4 separate regions of the Homo sapiens genome follow, and all the other regions are linked to region 1. The links are contacts of gene promoters, found by promoter capture Hi-C in human tissues and cell types (Jung and others, 2019). All regions are on one chromosome and are shown on one strand. Each heading gives the region's core, a stretch centred on a gene start or on the middle of the fragment in contact. The rest is flanking DNA. Distances are from core to core; before and after follow the strand shown.

Evidence for each region. Contacts are between HindIII fragments. The study calls those that stand out against the background at their distance.
Region 2: a fragment that was not itself captured here is called in contact with the fragment with the promoter of SEMA6A in region 1 in 1 of the 25 tissues and cell types used here (lymphoblastoid cells).
Region 3: a fragment that was not itself captured here is called in contact with the fragment with the promoter of SEMA6A in region 1 in 1 of the 25 tissues and cell types used here (mesenchymal stem cells).
Region 4: a fragment that was not itself captured here is called in contact with the fragment with the promoter of SEMA6A in region 1 in 1 of the 25 tissues and cell types used here (dorsolateral prefrontal cortex).

What each region holds. Positions count from the first base shown.
Region 1 is chr5:116,573,113-116,576,419 of GRCh38, forward strand. It overlaps SEMA6A (semaphorin 6A), which reads right to left and starts at 1,711. Exons shown (of 19, transcript NM_020796.5): 1 at 1,073-1,711. It overlaps SEMA6A-AS2 (SEMA6A antisense RNA 2), which reads left to right and starts at 1,306. Exons shown (of 3, transcript NR_147170.1): 1 at 1,306-1,427. RefSeq lists a silencer at 1,467-1,546. The HindIII fragment of the contact is 11,240 bases long and covers 1-3,307 here.
Region 2 is chr5:117,135,707-117,139,013 of GRCh38, forward strand. No RefSeq gene overlaps it. Among named protein-coding and RNA genes, the nearest start is that of LINC00992, 280 kb to the right of the region's middle. The HindIII fragment of the contact is 6,383 bases long and covers 1-3,307 here.
Region 3 is chr5:117,118,354-117,121,660 of GRCh38, forward strand. No RefSeq gene overlaps it. Among named protein-coding and RNA genes, the nearest start is that of LINC00992, 300 kb to the right of the region's middle. The HindIII fragment of the contact is 7,552 bases long and covers 1-3,307 here.
Region 4 is chr5:117,098,041-117,101,347 of GRCh38, forward strand. No RefSeq gene overlaps it. Among named protein-coding and RNA genes, the nearest start is that of LINC00992, 320 kb to the right of the region's middle. The HindIII fragment of the contact is 5,178 bases long and covers 1-3,307 here.

The DNA of each region.
Region 1 (3,307 bases), core at 461-2,960:
AGAATCGGGACAAGAGACACTTCCCGCCCCAGAAGGATCAGGCAGGGTGGGTGGGCACTGCCCGGCTTACTCTCCAGCGCCCCATTGCCCCCATGGTAGCGCCCTAGGACACAGTGAGGAGTCGGAACAGAGCCCTAGTCTGGGTTTCAAACCCAGGGCCATCTTCTGCCAGGTCTCTCACCCTTCCCCCTCCTGGGTCATCTTTCCAGAGCGAGACCGCGCTGATCTGGGAGGAGGGCGTACCGTGCGCCAGCCCGGTGCAAAGGGCTCGGTGCTTCAGGAGGGACGCAGCCGCGACGGGCTATATCCTTGCCGCTCGGGTTGGGAGCTGCGGCGGGGGACAGGACCCATGGCGGGGGCGCCGCGTCACCCGAACGGCTGCTCCCGGACACTTATTCGAGCAAACAAAGCCCGGAACCTCTGGTGGCAGCGGCCACAGGAGCCAGGATCTCACCGAGAGACAGGGCGCGCGGGTGCCTAGAGCCATTACAAGTTTCTTGCACTCCACGGAGCCCAGCCCAGACCCCACACTGACAACAAAAGATTCTCTCCGCTTCCACACCGTCTCCGCGGAACCCCTTCTCCCACCTGGCACTGGACGAAAACAGCGCTGTTATACCCAACCCCCTCCAGCCCTCGAGGGCAGAACCCCTTCCCCTGCCTTCGACACACCGGGCCAGGGAGCTTCCGAGAATCCCACCATTTAGGGCCCGCTCTGCTCCCTGCTGGGCACGCGGGAGGATGAGCCTTGGGTCTCGCACACACACCCCCAGGAGGAACAGCCATACGCGCCGTCGCGGCCCGGGGCGGCGCCGGGCGTGTGCGCAACGCGGGTGGGAAAGCTCTCGACGTGGAGCCGGACGCACTCTGGGGCGCAGGGCAGAGAGGAAAGGCAGGCAGGGCTCACGGCTGCTCCCCCAGGACCGGGCAAGGCTCGGGAAACAGAGACACAAGACAAAATAAAACGCAGGCACCACAAAGCCGACAGCACGCGCTAGCCACGGCCCCGGGACCCTCAGGCTGGAGTCCAGCTGCCCGGGAGGTGGGGCGCGCCCGGGCGCCCGGGGCGTACCTTTTCGGTGCATCGACGGACAGGCGGCCGGGGCTCGGAGCGAACTGGTACAGCGTGTATCCCATTTAGTAATCCATTATCGAGGGGATCTCTCCGGGCCGCGGGCTGCGCTCTCTCCTTCGCAAGCCTTTGTCATTCCTACATGTGTGCTTGTCTCTTTGGGGGAAATAGTCGCGGCGACTACTTTCTGGGATGCAAACGCGATGTGTTCATCTCCAATGACGAGCGGAGAAGGGGAGAGGAAAAAAGAAGCCAAAAAAAAAAAGAAGAAAAAGAAAAAGAAAACCAACAAGGAAGAGGGTAAATGTTCAAGAAACTCTTCTCCAAATCCAAATTCCACTTGGATTCCACTTCGGTGAGTCCCCTTGGTGGTGTCTGCGCCGATTAACAAGTCATTTCAGGGCGGGGGGCGGGGTGGGGGCTGGGGCAGGGGTGCAAGGCTCTGGCCCGGCTCTGCGGCCGGCAGCGCGGTGCCGCGGGTGTGGTGATGCTGGCCGCTGCTACACGCTGCTAAGCGGGCATCGCGGGCGACCGGCACCGCGGAGGAGCGCCGCTGCTGGGTTCCGAGCGCCTGGGCAGCCGAGTGCGCGGGGAGCGGAGTTGGCTGCAGCCTCACCCCGTGCCGCTCACTACTCCTCTGTCACCGGAGAGGCCGCCGCTCCCGGGCGGAGCCAAGTCCCGGACTGGATTGCGCAGATCGGACTCTCCTTCCGCAACTCCGCCTACTTTGGCTGGCGTCTCCTCCGACCCAAAGGAGAGCTGTGGTGTATGTGAGTGCGAGTGAGCGAGGCAGAGGCGGAGAAACTACGCGGTGTGGCTGCAGGTGGAGCCTTGGACCAACTGGCCAGCGCCGCTTCCTTCCACCAGGATTCCTGGCCCCACCGCGCGCTAGGCGGAGGCTCAGCGGGGGCGACTCTGGCTGGAGCCCAGCCCTCACCTCCCCCACCCCCACATCTGCTCTAGCTAGGAAAAAAAAAAAGAAAAAAAAAATCCCGGACAGCATTGCTGAGTCCTGCCAAATCAGAAAAATAAATAAAAATAGACGTAGTGCAGGAGCGAGTTACAAGAAAGGTTTTGTTCATCGATTTTCTTAAATGGAAAAGTTTTAAAGGATGAGGGTAAGTGAACGGCGAGCTTTTCTGATTCTGATTACTGTTATCAAGAGGTAGATTCCAGAAGCGATGGACGCTCTACGTAGTTAGATGAATTGGATAGAAGCCGGTGCGGTTAAAAATACACTTGGAAGATAAGAACACAGCTATTAATTACGCACATACACACGTTAATAAAGCATGTGAAGTAAGCAAATAAACTACAGTGCAGAGAATGGCGTTTTTAACGACGGCGATCTATTTTAAAACTTAATGAAGTTCACATTTTGTGGACTGGTCTTAGAAATAAGTAAACTTCAGAAATAACACGCATACAATTCCAGTGAGAACCCAAAAGGTTTATGGAAGAAGAAAATCGCAACCACTTCCAAGGCGCTATTGTTATGATCACATGAAGAATGGCAGGCACAGCCTTCTTTCACCACTTGAACTTTCAATAGCTACAAAGTCTTGCAGTTACAGGCTTGTGCCAACTCGTCGGGCCACACCACGTTCCCCTCCCCCTGCCGCTGCGCCCCGAAATCAACTGCGCGCCGCGGCTCTTGCTCCCCAAGGGGGCTTCGCAGATGGTACGGATCCTAGTCGCAACCTTTAAACAAAGTAACATCGGGCGGCCCAGCAGTTCTCGGAGAGATATTTACTAGTCATGGAGTTGGCTGAGAAAAGCAAGTGCGGAGATCGGGGTCTCAGTCCCACTTAGGCCGAGTTTCTTTATATTGGAAACTGTACCTGTTCCCTAATTGGGACTAAGACCACTAATAAGTCCACGTTCCCTCTTTGGTCGCTTCTCTAAGTACAGACATCTGCTTAAGAGGCTTCACGAAGAATAAATGCACATGGGTCAACACCCATTCCCCCCGCACCACTACCACCACCTGGAAAAGGTAGGGAGAATGGTAGGAAAAAAAGAAAAAATCAGTACCCCTGCTGTTCTCCAGAGCTGTCAGCAGGGGCCGCTATCCCCACCTTTCTCGGGCAAAGGCCTCTATAGACCTGGGGTAGTGGGGGGCGCGGCCCTAGGTGCGCGCGCAGCCCCCGCGGCTTCAAGAGCCAGCCTCGGGAGGGGGTTGGGGAGTGTGGGGCGGTGGGTAGGATTGCGCTTTCCCGCGGGTTGGGTGGGGGC
Region 2 (3,307 bases), core at 227-2,726, 560 kb after region 1:
AGAGCAAACCTCTTTTACTTTGGTTCCAAACCTCCATGGATGTATATTTCACCTGGTCTTTTTTTCCCTATCCTTAGCCTTATTTCCTCATGAGTGCATCAGCTCACACAAAGATTCTCTTTCAAATGAGGTGGCAGGTCCATGAGTTCCCTGTGGCTGTTCTCAATGATGACTTTCGCAATCAGGACATTGGTGAGGAGATCTACTATTCCTCCTTAATTCCAGCCTAGTCAAACTGTGCAAGGACTTGTTTGTAGAAAATAATAGACAATCACTGCTATAGAAAAAGATGGGTGGCTTTTAAGGAGTTGATTAACATCAAACCATATTGCTTAAAACAATTGTGGGAAGGGTGTTGGTAATGGTAAAAACATAAGCTGCCGATTCTTGCTTTGTCTTCTTTTACTTGGCTGCTGTCATAAGCAATAAAACTTTTGTGTGACTACTTGGCATTGCTGTAGGTGAGAACTAGAAAACTTGTGTCCCCTTCCTGTCTCTGCCCTTGATTTATCACCTAAGGAAAACATTAACCACAGTATGCCTCTTTTTCTTCCCTTTTCTAAGAAAACAAAAATGATATTACTTGGGCAGGTTTGGTGTACTTTTCCTATTGTGACCCAAACTGCTTTGCACACATGGGGCTCTAAATTGTCATATAAAACTGGAAAACAATGAGAGACTGGCCCTGATAGGGAGTTCTCTAAGTGACTGAATGAATTCAACACCTAAACTGGACTATTAAGATTGACTTTGGCCATTCCCAACAGATGGAAGCCTAGATCCTTTGAGAATAGGAGAGCTCTGAAATCATCTCTTCCATTCACTGCACAAATGGTATCAGCACACCTTTGTGCAGTCCATCTGGTCAACTCTTGGGCCTAAGCAACTCTTTATTTTCAGGGAGAAAGAGAAATACTAAAAGAACAAGCAGTTTGGAATAGATCACTCATTCATGTAACGTATAAACACATAAGTGAAACTGCCTACACAGATTCTGGTTGGATTAGAAAGTGATCATTGTGGAATGCTGTCACTTGAGAAATGCTGCTACATCTGTTCCTTTGATTTCAGGATGTTGTCCTTAGAATAGTTCACCTTAACCCAATTCTATGCTACGCAGGAATGATTTTTGTGTAGGTGCCAAGAGAAGGAGTACCACATACACATAGGGTGCAGAAAGGGGACACCACATGACTCTGCCTGTGCTTTTCTATCTTGTCTGCAAATGGCCATCACAACAGGTCATTCCATGTGTGGAATGGCAGGGCCTTACTGACTGGAGCAGCAGCAATAAAACTTTTAGCATACTTTGCTACCCCTGTTTTGTTTTGGTTTTCATATTTTATGAGAGGAGGACACAATCATTATTTTCTCATATTTTACAAATTTAAGTACAACTCAGTGACTACCCAGATCTTAGGTGGTTTTCTCGTCCCTCCTGACCTTTCTAGAAGCTCAAGGATTCAAAGCCAAGTTGTTTTCCACATAGTGAGATCAATAAATATTACTAGTGCAATGAGGTGTTCAGTCACTACACTACCTATTTAAACTCCCATTAGTTACAGTTTTAGTTGTTAAGCATCATTACATAAGCATTCTCTGGCCTCAGCATCTAACACTTCAAAGTCATGCAAATGCTGGTTCATGAATTCTGATAAATATCTACAAATAATTCTGGGTGTAGGACATCATGTTTTTCAATCAGAATAAGAACCTGTCAAGGATAGCTCATTGTAATTAGGTATAAATATTGAAAACTTTGGCAACTGGGAAAAACATATGCCAGTGTGCTTATTGGCAAGCCCTGTTGTAAATAATAGGGTATCTAGATGATGATCAGTACATAAAGTGTTGTTTGTAGTCCTTAGGAGCTATTGGTCAAAGATATTAGATGTGTCGACAAGTAATACATGAAGGCCCATATGAGTTAAGTGGTCAATGTGGAGGAGATCAAGAGGTTCAAGGCTGAGCTCTTGTCCATAAAAAAATGCATAATCTTAATAGTCCAAAGTGCAGCAACAATTTTGGAACCAAAAGACCAACAAGAGTTGAGGAGTTAGGTGCAGAGACAAGGAACCAGCAGAATGAGAACCATGATTTATATTGACCCAGGCAAAGGACCTTTAAGGTCTCTTATCAGAACAGAAGATACTCCCAAGTGGATTTGCCTCACAGCCTGCAAAGAGGTTGTATATCATCTTCTAGCAATCAATGCAGTCTCTGTTTCATTTATAGTAAACATGGGTGGATTATCTTCCTTTTGTAACCAGCTCCTTAGAAGCAATTTATTTAAGCTAAATTTTGTATTAGCCACAAGTTTTAATTCTAATTTTTCAGCATCTTAGCTTATAAACCAACTTTTATGCTATATATATATATGGACAACTAGATCCTATCATGTTTCACTTCTCCAAAACAGGATCAACATTTTCAAATAAACTCATGGAGATATGGAGCTGGAAGACAATTTAGGAACTCATTATATATGACAGACTTTGAGAAATTATTTATGTAGTACAATATAGAAATATCTTACAATACAGAAATAATCTAAATATTATAGATAAAAGTGATACTTTAGCTTTTATTGTGCAGATAAATTTGTCTCAGTTCTTTATTTCACTTTGTATGCAGAGACCAGCTTACTTTTTATGTGGTCAGATGGTATAAATTTCATTCTTTTAATCTGGTATCCTAAATCAATAATTTCTGCCTTTTAATAATTTCTTTTTTAATGGTGTTGTCTTTCAGAATTGAGGTAAATTTTTTGAAACTGTTTTATTAAAATCATAAAAGGAAAGAAGTAAGTGAATATATAGCAAACATCAATCTATGCAGGACAATTATCAAGAAAATAAATATAGCTGAATGTGAAGCGATCTTAGAAATGCCTTTATAAACCACAATATTGCCTCACATACATTTAATAGAAACCAGTTTTCTCTCATTATTATGTAATAATTATTATTACATAATCTCATTATTATGTAATAATTATTACATAATCTCATTATTATGTAATAATTATTATTACATAATCTCATTATTATGTAATCTCAATATTATGTAATATCCATGCAGTGCAAAAATATATACATGACTCTAAACTAAGTGTTATCGTGTCTAAAATCTGATAATATCAGGCTAATGCAGCATCTAATTCGAAGAAGGATTATTTCCCACAGATACATAAGTATGATCCTGTCCTGAGATGTACATAAGATTGTATCAGATAGGTGTACACAGTTAATATAGTGAATTATAATAAATGAATGGTTGCTATTTTATTAAATTGATAGACAAGACT
Region 3 (3,307 bases), core at 497-2,996, 550 kb after region 1:
TAAGATTGCATTTAACCTTGAGCTAGAGAGTTAAAACACTGCAGAAAGTTTTTTTTTTTTTTTTCTAACACCATCTCACTTCCTAGGATTACTAGGAGAGATCTTAGAGCCTTCTATAAATACAGACGCTGCAGGCCTGTTGTAGAAGAATCTCTGTTGGAGCAAACCAGAAACAAAGGATTTGTAATATTTGTAATATTTTTAAAAGCCTCCCTACAGCTAATCCCCAGATCTTTTGGGACCCACTGACCTGTAGCAGACTGTGCTTAAATTTACTTCTAAAAATAGCCTTTTACCCAGAGAGATGTAAGATTTCTCATTATTCTAGTTGTGACAGTCCTTTCATGGCTGATGACTCAACTGTACCCTAGGTGACAATTACCATAGAATTTCACTATGTTGATAGGGTTAAAATTACTAGTTACCAGAATCTGTTGTACTTATCACATGAACTGGTTCATACAAAGTTAAATATGGATGATACAAATAATGTGCATGTGGAAACTTGTTTGTCTATCCCAGATTTGGGGCCCAAACTTAAACGCTGACTGGGGCCAGGTAAGTGATATAAGCAAAGAAGTAGCCTGGGGTAAGATAATAAGGAATGGAAGAGACCATTGCAGCTAAGCAGCAAGTTCCCCAATCTGAAAGGTTTTGCTGTAGCTCAGCTCCAGCTAAATAGTTTCATTTGAGAATCAGGCACAGGGTTGCCAGATCTTTAGATTGTCTTTTAAGTTAAAAATCTAGATTTTTTATGTCAAAATTTCCAGATTTAAATTTTGGCCCATTAAAAATAAAAGCACTGACGTCAGTAAGGTGGGGCCTAAGTCTATGGGGCAAAATTTTGTCTGTAAGCTTTTAGTTTATGGCTGTGCCTATAAAATCTATGAATTCTGGGAAGTGGGGATAGGAGGAAGTTTCCAGGAGAAGGAGACTGACCTTGGATAGTGTGCAAATCAGTGGGCACCATGACACCTCAGCCAAGGAGCAGGGCCCAGGAAGACAGGTGTCTAGAGAGCTCTCTTAGGCCACAGGCTCTCCTGATTTATTGTTTCCTCCTCTCCTAGAATGCCATTAGTCCTGGGGAGCCTCCTGTGCTAACAAGGGGTGGGTATTTCATTCACAAGCTGAAAGAGTGACGTATTTTCTTTTTCTGTTTAATTTCTAAGAAGTGAACAAGTTTATTAAAACTATTGGTACAGCAACTAGACTTAAGAAAATTCATTTCAATGCTTCATTATGTATTTTCAGAAATAAAGGTGTTTATTTCACAAAAGGAAATTGCCTATTGGCTTGGTTACTTTATATCTGATTTTCCAACTAGCTTTTTAGATCATTCGCAGTTCATTCCATATATCATATGTATTACAAATGGAAAAATGTGCCTATGTCAATAACTTTATTTTGAATAATGGTAAAAATTTCTAAGATATGCATAGTGAGGTTTGTAGAGTGGTTTGCTTATTTATCTTTTTATTTTGAAATAATTTCAAATTTGGAAAAATATTCTAAAATTGTCTAAAATAGTCTAAAATAGTCTAAAAATTCCCATATATCTTTTATTCAGATTAATTGTCAGCATTTTTCTATTTGACATTTCTCTCTCCCCCATTTATTATGTATATTACTAATAATATATAAGAAATATATATTATTTCTTTTTTAATTCATTTGAAAGTAAGTTGTAGATATCACATTCATCTTCCCTTAAATACCTCAGTCTTGGGCTGGGCGCCGTGGCTCACGCCTGTAATCCCAGCCCTTTGGGAGACTAAGGTGGGCGGATCATGAGGTCAGGAGATCGAGACCTCATGGCTAACAACGGTGAAACCGCGTCTCTACTAAAAATACAAAAAAAAAAAATTAGCCGGGCGTGGTGGCGGGCGCCTATGGTCCCAGCTACTCAGGAGGCTGAGGCAGGAGAATGGCATGAACCCCGGAGACGGAGCTTGCAGTGAGCTGAGATTGCACTACTGCACTCCAGCCTGGGCGGCAGAGCGAGACTCCATCTCAAACAACAACAACAACAACAGCAAACAACAACAACAACAACAAACACTTCAGTCTCAGTCTTTATTTACTAAGAATAAGAACAATCTCTTATATTAACTCAGTATCATCAAAATCAGAAAACTTAACAAAATTCAACATTTAATCAAATACATTTATCTTATCTATAATACATGTTCAAATTTGCTAATTGTACAGTTAAGGTCCTTTAGAGCATTTTTTTTTTCATCCCAGAATCTAATTTATGATCATGCATTGCATTTTCTTTGTCATGTCATTTTAGTCTCCTTTAACCTGGAGGAATTTTCCAGCCTTTTTGTTGTTGTTGTTCTTTACAGGGGTCCCCAACTCCCAGGTCACGAACCTGTGTGGGTCTGTGGCCTGTTAGGAACCAGGCTGCACAGCAGGAGGTGAGCAGCTGGTGGGCTAGCGTTACCACCTGAGTTCCGCCTTAAGTCAGATAAGCGGTAGCATTAGATTCTCATAAGAGCACAAACCCTATTGTGAACAGGGCCTGTGAGGGAGCTAGGTTTTCTGCTTTTTATTAGAATCTAACTAATGCCTGATGATGTGAGGTAGAACAGTTTCATCCCAAGAGCAACCCGTCCCCTAAGCCTGGCAGTGGAAAAATTGTCTTCCACGAAACCGGTCCCTGGTGCCAAAAAGGTTGGGAACTGCTGCTCTATGATATTGACATTTTTGAAGAATACCAATCATTCATTTCATAAGTTATCCCTCAATTTGGATTTGTCTGAAGTTTCCTCATAATTATGTCCAAATTATGTCTTTACTGCATAAATGATGTGTCCTTCTCAGTGTGTTATTTTAGAAGGCTCATGAAGTCATTTTTCTCTTACTTTTGATCACTTGGTTAATACCCGATCACTTAGTTTACACCAAATTTCTCCACTCTAAAATTACTGTTTTCCTTTTTTATCTTAAAAGTAGTTCAAGAAGAGATACTTTTTGGGTATGTAAATATCCTGTTTCTAATTAAACTTTCACTTACTAGGCTTAGTGTCCATTGATGATTCTTGCCTGAATCAATTATTACAATCAATTGTAATGGCTGCAAAATGGTGATTTTCTAACTGTACCATTTTTCGCTATGTTTATTAGTTAACCTTCTACTCGCTTTCTTTATTTTTCCTTATTTATGTATATCAGTATATACTGATTCTTATTTTATCTATAGATTATAATTCATTACTATCATTATTTATTTTGGTATTTAAGTGTCCGAGTATTGATAAAATATTTTAAATATTATGATTGCTCCAAAATTCAATAATGTATA
Region 4 (3,307 bases), core at 533-3,032, 520 kb after region 1:
GGGATTGTATTTTGTGCTTTCCTGGGATTATAGTAATCTTTTTCATCCTACCAAAGGGAATAAAAATAATTTCACATCAGAAAGGCTGCAGATTATGTGTCATTCAAATTTTTCGGCACTGTAACCCCAAGCCAGGACTTGTCACATTAGGTTTCCTCTTCAAGCATGGGGTCACTTGCTCCATCAATGGGATTTTCACAATTATATTTTCTAATAGGGCACTCCTTCCTTTGGCCAATATTCATGGTCACGTGATGTTTGGCCTTGGTTTACGATATATTTCATAATGTTTTATTAAAATCATACAGAATTTTATCACCTAGGTGATGAGATGTTGAATCTCTACAGCATCTCCTCTGAGATATTTAACTAATCTATTATCTTCCTCTTTGAGCCTCTCTTTCTATAAGGACATTGCATGGGAATAGGTCCTTCTTCCTTCAGCAAATTGTTTTCTGTACCCACGCTTTCCTCTTACACATGTAGAAAAAAATGCTTATCTTCATTATAAAAAAAGTTCTTATTATAAAAAAAATTAACAGCTATGAGGATAATACTCTCTGGTAATAAAACATAATAAAAATGTGCTAAACATATCCTATTCATTCTTTATTTTTATTATATGTCCCTTTCTGTAAACTTACCTTTTTGTACACTATTTTTGACTTTTTTTTTTTTTTTTAAAGATTCTACTTTTTATCTACTTGACCTCTTTTACTTAGCTGTAGTGACTTGATTTTTTTCTGTTACTTTGTCACAATCTGGCCAAATGTTGCATGCTCTAAACAGGCTTTCTTTCGCCACTGCTTCAGACACTTGGGAAATTTTCACCTTTTCCGGCAGTAAAAACAGATTCTGGGCCCATATTGCATTGTTTCCTGTTCTGAGACCAGGGCTCTCCTATTCTGCAAGAAAATTTATTTCTATCTAATAGAGAATAGTATTTAGAAAACAAAAAAGTTAACGATACCCATCTGATGTTCCTCCTGAAAACAGTGGGTGGGAAGATGATGTAGCTATAGGCTGCTTTAGTGACTGAGCTGGAAAATATATTTATTTTAGGTCATGAGTTCACACTGATATTTCCTATTTTAAAATTTAGTATTCTTAATTTATTTTATGTTCTTTTACAATATAAAGTTTTAAATTTAATTTCTCTAAAATATGCTTCTCAAATTTTTACCTTTTTATCAACATTTATTTTGTAGCTGTGCCTTTTCCTTAGCCATTTGTCACATTGACCTTCTCTTTTTCATTCTATAGTCACTTTATTGCCAAAGAGAATACTAGATACAGGTTTGGAATAGAAACTTAAATATGTGACCCGGAATGAAGCACAGGAACACAAAAAAATTAAACATATAAGAGACATGAAGGTGAGTTCACCGAGAATATCCAGTGAGAACTCCAGAGGAAAAAAGTAGAGGATGTGGGTGAGAAGCATAAATTCAAGAGACAAAGGCTGAGTATTTTCAAAATAGATGAATGGCATCATGCTTAGATTGGCAGAATACACAGTGGTAAGCAGAATTTTGAACTGGACCCCAAGACTCCCAGTCCCTGATGTACACCTGCCATATAACCTCGGGCTAGGAAATGACTTCGCTCCCACGATTAGATTTTGTTTTATGGCAAAGGTGGAGGCCTTTGAAGATGTATTTAAGGTCCCATATAAGTTGCCTTTGAGTTAGTCAAGAGGGAGTTTATTCCAGTTAAAACAGGCTTAATCAGGTGAAAGCCCATAAAAGAGGGACTGGGCCCTTTCTTAAGAAAGGTATTCTTCTACTGGCCCTACAGAAGCAAATGGCCATGTTTGGCAGGAAACTGTGAGCAGCTTCTGGGAACTGTGGGTGGCCCCTAGCCCATGGCCAGCAAGAAAATGGGAACTCAGCCACATAGCTGCATGGAGAGGAATTCTGTCAACAAACTGAGGAAGCTTGGGAGTGGACTTTACCAAGCCTTTGATGAGACCTCAGCTTCAGTCGCATGTAGGTTACAGCCTGATAAGACCTTGAAGCAGGGAATCCAGCTAAGCCGGGCTTAGCTTAGTTTCCTCCATGAACTGCAGAAACTATGAGAAAATAAAAATGTGTTGTTTTAAGCTATTAAGTTTGTGGCAGTGTGTTATGCAGCAATGGCAAACCAATACATACACATTGATAATGTCAATGCCAATGGTATGGGCACCCTGGGACATTCCCTTTAAAGTAAAGGATAGGTTGTTATATCATCTGCCTCTTGGGCCACTGGATATTGGAGTCATCATATAGTGTGCTTGAGATGACAGCTTTGACCCATTTTTGAGTGACTTTCCAGGATACCAGATTTGAGTAATGTCCAGAACAAGAGGCCTCTGCAGCTGAGGCAGTCTGTTGCTCTGCTGCTCAGTCTCTATCACCCAGCAGATTTGAAGGCATTAAATGTATCCACTATGGATAAGGATGCTATAAAGGCATTTTTGGCAGATTCCCATAGGAAAATTGCAGGGCTGACTCATAGAGTTCTGAAGTAAGGTCCTGCTTTCTGCGGGAAACAACTACCCTTTGTTAAAAACACAGTTTCTGGCTGGGCGCGGTGGCTCACGCCTGTAATCCTAGCACTTTGGGAGGCCGCAGTGGGCGGATCACCTGAGGTCAGGAGTTTGAGTCCAGCCTGGCCAACCTGGTGAAACCCCATCTCTACTAAAAATAACAAAATTTAGTCAGGCATAGTGGTGGGCCCCTGTAATCCCAGCTACTCAGGAGGCTAAGATAGGAGAATCGATTGAACCTGGGAGGCAGAGGTTGCCGTGAGCCAAGATCATACCATTGCACTCTAGCCTGGGCAACGAGAGCAAAACTCCATCTCAAACAAAAACAAAAACAAAAAAACCCCACCACACTTCCTGGCAGGCTTAACCCTAGTGACTGAAGGTCTCACTAAGGTTCACTCACTGTCTATGCAATTAGAACTACCCATCATGAACCATGTGTTATCAGTTGCACCAAGTCATGAGATGAGGCAAGGCAACAGTAATGCATTATATGATTAAAAATGCCATATTTAGGATCAGGCCTGGATAGAATCAGAAGACACTAATATATTTCATAAATAGGCAGGCCAGACCTTTGTGTTCCCTACTACCATGACATCAGTCCCTCTTTGTAAGCTCACAGTATGGCTTCATAAGGGGTTCTCTATGAGCAACTCATGGATGGCAAAACCTCGTTCACATATGGGTCAATGCAATAGAGATACTGCTCCAATAGAGGTACAGGTTTATTACAGCTACCTGTAATGAACCACTGCTGCATTACAGCCCCACTCA